Linked DNA regions of Homo sapiens: region 2 is linked to region 1. Evidence: promoter capture Hi-C in 16 types of primary human blood cells and fetal thymus (Javierre and others, 2016). All regions are on one chromosome and are shown on one strand. Each heading gives the region's core, a stretch centred on a gene start or on the middle of the fragment in contact. The rest is flanking DNA. Distances are from core to core; before and after follow the strand shown. Region 1 holds the start of KRTAP22-2 (keratin associated protein 22-2). Region 2 has its middle 26 kb from the start of KRTAP20-3.

Region 1 (3,139 bases), core at 445-2,944:
ACTTTTAATGGCCACCTTATATTAATTAGTCTACCTCCAGTAACTGAACTTAATGTAACTCACTGAGTTTTATTATTCTCACAGGATTCTTCACTGTTAGAATCTATTTCATTCATTTTTAAAATCAGTCTCTCTATCCCTTCTGTCTCATTGTAACCTGCAGAAAGTAGAGACTTTGTCTATTTTGTTCATCTGCTCAATCTGCATTTCTTATAACGGTGCCTGATACAGCAGATTCTTAATAAAGATTTGATGAATTAGTGAAAAAATAACCAAATGAATGACATGATGCAACTTTCTATACTCAAATTCTGTGTAGAATAATCACAATCTTTGTTCTATGCTTGGGGTAACTGGGGATAAATTCATGTACTCTGGGATCCTTTTGGATCATATGCAAACCAGTGGAGGAATTTATCATGGTGATTTTTTTCTGGTTTGAGAATCCATGCCTTTTCCGATTGTTAAGGTGGTGGTATATATCCACTAAAGTTTATGAACTACTGTGTGCAGTTCCGAAATTCTGACTAAATGTTCTACTTGCCTCTTATTGATATGATACTTTGCCAGTCTCACATTGATCTACAAAGTATGATCCCTAGGTTGATCATTGGTAGTTCTGCTACATTTAAGAGTAGCAAATGAATTAATATGTACTATTATTTGTTTATATTTTATTCTAATTGCTTTATCATAATAAATGACTAATAATTCATTAATAATATTTAATAAGTGGATGGAATAAACGTGACAAATTATCACAGGGAGCTTCATAGAAAGTCAGCTCTCATAATTAAGGCTATCACCAGAATGCATTTGGGCCAGAAATGTGGTTTGCTGATGTTATTCTATCCAAGTCACCACTTTAAAAAATAGTAACAGGAATTCTGCTAGAAGATGAAAAGTATTTTTACAATACTTTTGGAAATTTGGAATTAATATATTTTAAAATAAGCAAATTCATTAAATATAAAAAGAAGGTAAAATATGTGAATATTATGTGTCAGGAGAGGAAAACATGAATTTTGAGATACGGTGGGTAATTGTTTCTAATTGCTTTCTCAGATGCAAAGAGAACACCACAACTAATAATATAACCAAAGTGAGGATGATGGAAGAGAAAAAACTTTACTACTCCAAGAACATAAGCTACATATGAACTTGGAAGAAAATTTTTAGTCCCATTGATTAAGAAATAAATTAGTCAAAACATACAGGCATATTTGCAAGTAAATAAAGACATTTTCATCGGCTTCCTCACTGCATAGCCAACCTTCCCTAACCATTCCTGGCCACTCTGTGGTTTAAGGACTGCATTTATGGAGGTAGAGGAGGATATTGAAAAAGAAAAAAGAAATGTTTCAAGAGGCAGGAAATATAAGCTTAATGTGATCACAGAGAAGCTAATCATCAAGTTTAAATTGGGATTTTAAGTAAGCAAAAGCCACAAAATTAAGAGAATATCTCCTTAAGGCTCATGATTTTACTTGTTGGCATCCTGACACATAGCAATATTAATATTTTCCTGGACATATGGCTAAGAGATTCTTGAGGGTTTTTTTAATCTTAATGCAAATTAGTTGTGAGAATGAGTCCAATGTAGATTGTGGTTTCCTTCACATATAACTCAGGTTGGATAAAATAATTTGTACAAATCAGGAGAGTCAAATTTCAGAAACTACTATCTGCCTCAATTGAACTCCATCTTCTGACACCATGTGCTACTACCACAACTATTATGGTAGCCTGGACTATGGTTGCAGCTATGGCTCTGAATATGGTAACTCTGGATATGCCTGCAACTTTCCGTGCTCCTATGGAAGATTCCTATTGGCTCCTAGAAAGAAATTCTGATTGCTGATCACTTTGAGCCATTTTCTTGTGATGCACTAATTGCATCAACAGGGTTATTTATGGATTCGTTATTGTCTCTCCAATTTTAACTAACTCTAATTATTGATTACCACAGGTCATATTTGCATTGGATTAGTGGAATTTCCTACCAGTTAGTGGGAAAATCCTTTGATATTTTGTTAGTTTTATGTGTTTATGTCTGTTATAATATTAACAATTTCCATGCAGGAAAACTTATAAATTTGCATTTTAATAAATATAATCACTTTCACAATATGTATTGCTTATCATATATATTCATTTCTCTTTATCATTTGTGTATTTGTGTGTGTGTGTGTGTGTGTGTGTGTGTGTGAAAGAGAGAGAGAGAGAGAAAGGGAGAAATAGAAAGAGAGAGTGAAATTGCTACCTGTGGCTATTTTAGTCAGTGATGTGACAAAACAGGCAACTCATGACTGATGTTTTTCCAAAAATGTTTGTATAAAAGTAATTTCAAGTTCAGTTTCAAGAATACTGTTCTCTATATTGATCTAATGCAAGTTTCATTTTAGAAAAATTCAATGTTTGACCTAGGTAATTGGCAAAACCAGTAGCACTATTACCCACCAAGCTATTTTCTACTGCAATTTTCTCTCTCCTAATAGTCTACATTTAAACATGTGCTTCTGTACTGATACAACTCCAGCCCTGCATTGAGTACTCTGACCTCTTTTCACTCACTCTTATAGATAAGAATCCTCTATATGAAGCTGGTTGGTATGCCTGATAATCCTGTGTTTCCACAGCAAAGATCACCTCATTTAGAGATCTAAGTGACTCTTTTGAGTTTTTCTAACTCTGATCATCTTCTAGCAGAATTCCTGTTACTATTTTTTAAAGTGGTGACTTGGATAGAATAACATCTTGCAAACCACATTTCTGGCCCAAATGCATTCTGGTGATAGGTCTTAATTATGAGAGCTGACTTTCTATGAAACTCCCTGTGATAATTTATCATGTTTATTCCATCCACTTATTAAATATTATTAATGATTAGTCATTAATTATGATAAAGCAATCAGAATAAAATATAAACAGATAATAGTACATATTAATTCATTTGCTACTCTTAAATGTAGCAGAACTACCAACGATCAACGTAGGGATCACACTTTATAGATCAATATGAGACTAGTGAAGTATCTCCCAGCCCCCAAGTGCAGGCTTTCTGAAAGCAAACGGAAGTGAAAATACTGTATTGCTGTCTATTCCTTCCTCCCTGGAGTGAAAAAGTCAATCCATTAGC
Region 2 (3,139 bases), core at 234-2,733, 79 kb before region 1:
GTGTGCTAAGCTCTCTGTGGCATAGTAGGACAGATTAAATGGCTCATGAAAGTAGATGCTTGAGAAGTCCAGCACATACGTACTGAATAGCCTGTTCCTGGGAAGCTCTATTACAGTGAATGGAACACTGTAATAAGGAAAGGGTACAGGTTTCTTGAGATGATATATATTAGCTGTGCCAGTAATTCAGTGACAATCATTAGATCATGTGGAAATTTCTGATTTCATCATAGTCATCATCATCATCATGAGCTGCAACTAATAATTCTTTTTCAATTACCAGTTAAAATTTATTCATTTATTTCAGTGATACTGAGTATCCAGTTATAGGACTGTACTTTTCAATTAAATAGGTCTGGTTTTTTAGAATACTGCAGAGGGATATGTATAGTTAGATAAAACAGAAAATTCTAAGAAACATATAAGACACATTATAATTTGAGTTACATTTTTCCTGGTGTATTAGTCTGTTTTCATTCTGCTGATAAAGACATACCTGAGATTGGAAAGAAAAAGAGGTTTTAATGGACTTAGAGTTCCATGTGGCTGGAGAGGCCTTGTAATCATGGTGGAATGTAAAAGGCACATCTCACATGGTGGCAGACAAGAGAAGAGAGTTGTGCAGGGAAACTCCTGTTTTTAAAACCATCAGATCTCATGAGACTCATTCACTATCACAAGAGCAACACAGGAAAGACCCGCACCCATAATTCAATCACCTCCCACCGGCTTCTTCCCATGACACGTGGGAATTGTGTGAGTTACAATTCAAGATGATATTTGGGTGAGGACAGAGCCAGACCTTATGATTCTGCCCCTGGCCCCTCCAAAATTCCATGTCTTCACATTCCAAAACCAATAATGCCTTCCCAACAGTACCCCAAAGTCTTAACTCATTTCAGCATTAACTTAAAAGTCCACATTCCAATCTCATCTGAGACAAGGCAAGTCCCTTCCACCTATGAGCCTGTAAAATCAAAAGCAAGTTAGTTAATTCCTAGACACAATGGGGGTACAGGCACTGGGTAAATATAGCCATACCAAATAGGAGAAATTGGCCAAAACAAAGGGGCTACAGGCCCCACGCAAGTCCAAAATCCAGCAAGGCAGTTAAATCTTAAAGCTCCAGGATGATCTCCATTGACTCCATGTCTCACATCCAGGTCTTGCTGATGCAAGAGGTGGGTTTCCATGGTCTTGGGCAGCACTGCCCCTGTGGCTTTGCAGGGTACAGCCTCCCTCCTGGCTGCTTCCATGGGCTGGCATTTAGTGTCTGCAGCTTTTCCAGGTACATGGTGCAAGCTGTCTGTGGATCTACCATTCTGGGGTCTGGAGGACATTGGCCCTCTTCTCACAGCTCCACTCAGTGGTGCCCCAGTAGGGACTCTGTGTGGGGGCTCTGGCCCCACATTTCCCTTTCATATTGCCTTAGCAGAGGTTCTCCATGAGTGCCCTGACCCTGCAACAAACTTCTGCCTGTACATCCAGGCATTTCCATACATGCTCAGCAATCCAGGCATAGGTTCCCAAACCTCAATTCTTGATTTCCGTGCACTGGTAGGCTTCACAGCCCCAGGAAGCTGCCAAGGCTTGAGGCTTGCTCCCTGTGAAGTCATGGCCTGAGCTCTGTATTGGCCCCTTTCAGCCATGGCTAGAGTGGCTTGGACACAGGGAACCAAGTCCCTAGGTTGCACACAGCACAGAGACACTGGGCTTGGCCCAGTAAATCACCTTTTTCTTCCTAGGCCTCTGGGCCTGTGATGGGAGGAGCTGCCGTGAAGGCCTTTGACATGCTCTGGAGATGTTTTCCCCATTGTCTTGGGGATTAACATTCAGCTCATTGCTACTTATGCAAATTTCTGCAGCCAGCTTGAATTTCTCCTTGGAAAATGGGATTTTCTTTTCTATTTCATTGTCAGGCTGCAAATTTTCCAAACTTTTATGCTCTGCTTCCCTTTTAAAACTGAATGTCTTTAAGAGCACCCAAGTCACATCTTGAATGCTTTGCTGCTTAGAAATGTCTTCTGACAGTTACCCTAAAGCATCTCTCTCAAGTTCAAAGTTCCACAGATCTCTAGGGCAGGGTCAAAATGCTGCCAGTCTCTTTGTAAAACATAAGAAGGGTCACCTCTGCTCCAATTCCCAGCAAGTTCCTTATCTCCATCTGAGACCACCCCGACCTGGATGCTATTTTCCATATCACTATCAGCATCATCTTTGTCAAAGCCATTCAACACATCTCTAGGAAGTTTCTGACTTTCCCACATTTTTCCTGTCTTCTTCTGATCCCTCCTGACTGTTCCAACCCCTGCCTGTTACCCAGTTCCAAAGTTGCTTCCACACTATCAGGTATCTTTAGCAGCACCTCACTTTACTGGTACCAATTTACTCTATTAGTTTGTTTTCACACTGCTGATAAAGACATACCTGAGACTGGGAAGAAAAATAGGTTTTAATTGTACTTACAGTTCCATGTGGCTGGGGAGACCTCACAATCATGGTGGAAGGTAAAAGGCATGTCTCACATGGCAGCAGACAAGGGAAGAGAGTTTGTGCAGGGAAACTCCCATTTTTAAAACCATCATATTTCATGGGACGCATTCACTGGTCATGAGAGCAGTGCAGGAAAGACCTGCCCCCATAATTCAATCACCTCCCACCGGCTTTTCCCCATGACATGTGGGAAATATAAAAGTTACAATTAAGATTTGGGTGGAGGCACAGGCAAATCATATACCTGGATCATTTAAAATTATTTTTTTTGTGAACTCTGATTAATAGATAATTTAATTATCTTTAGCTTATTACTTTGTGGGAAGATAAACATAGATGTATATGATCTTTACTGAGTGCTGTTATGTGCCAGCCAGTCTACTAAGCATCTTACAGGTACTAACCTATTTATTTTTCACAAAAACTCAGTGAAGATGGCATATTATCACCACTTTACCAATAAATAAATGAAAATTTAGTAAAACCAGCTATTAGGAATTATACAGATAACTAAATAGCAGAGCTAGGACTTGAAGCCAGGTCAGCCTGATTCCTAATTCCCTGGTCTCAGGCAGTTGGCCAAACTGGTATTTTTGTTTTTCATAGGCTTATAGTCATTAATTTTTCCTATCAGTAGACTTTGATG

What was found. The method cuts DNA at HindIII sites, captures the fragments that hold promoters and counts their contacts. A CHiCAGO score of 5 or more calls a contact.
Region 2: a fragment that was not itself captured here is called in contact with the fragment with the promoter of KRTAP22-2 in region 1 in 1 of 17 cell types (neutrophils); the score reaches 5.2 in neutrophils.

Annotation. Positions count from the first base shown.
Region 1 is chr21:30,588,952-30,592,090 of GRCh38, reverse strand. It overlaps KRTAP22-2 (keratin associated protein 22-2), which reads left to right and starts at 1,694. Exons shown (of 1, transcript NM_001164434.1): 1 at 1,694-1,986. The coding sequence starts at 1,717. The coding sequence ends at 1,854. The HindIII fragment of the contact is 4,540 bases long and covers 1,385-3,139 here.
Region 2 is chr21:30,667,604-30,670,742 of GRCh38, reverse strand. No RefSeq gene overlaps it. Among named protein-coding and RNA genes, the nearest start is that of KRTAP20-3, 26 kb to the right of the region's middle. The HindIII fragment of the contact is 8,660 bases long and covers 1-3,139 here.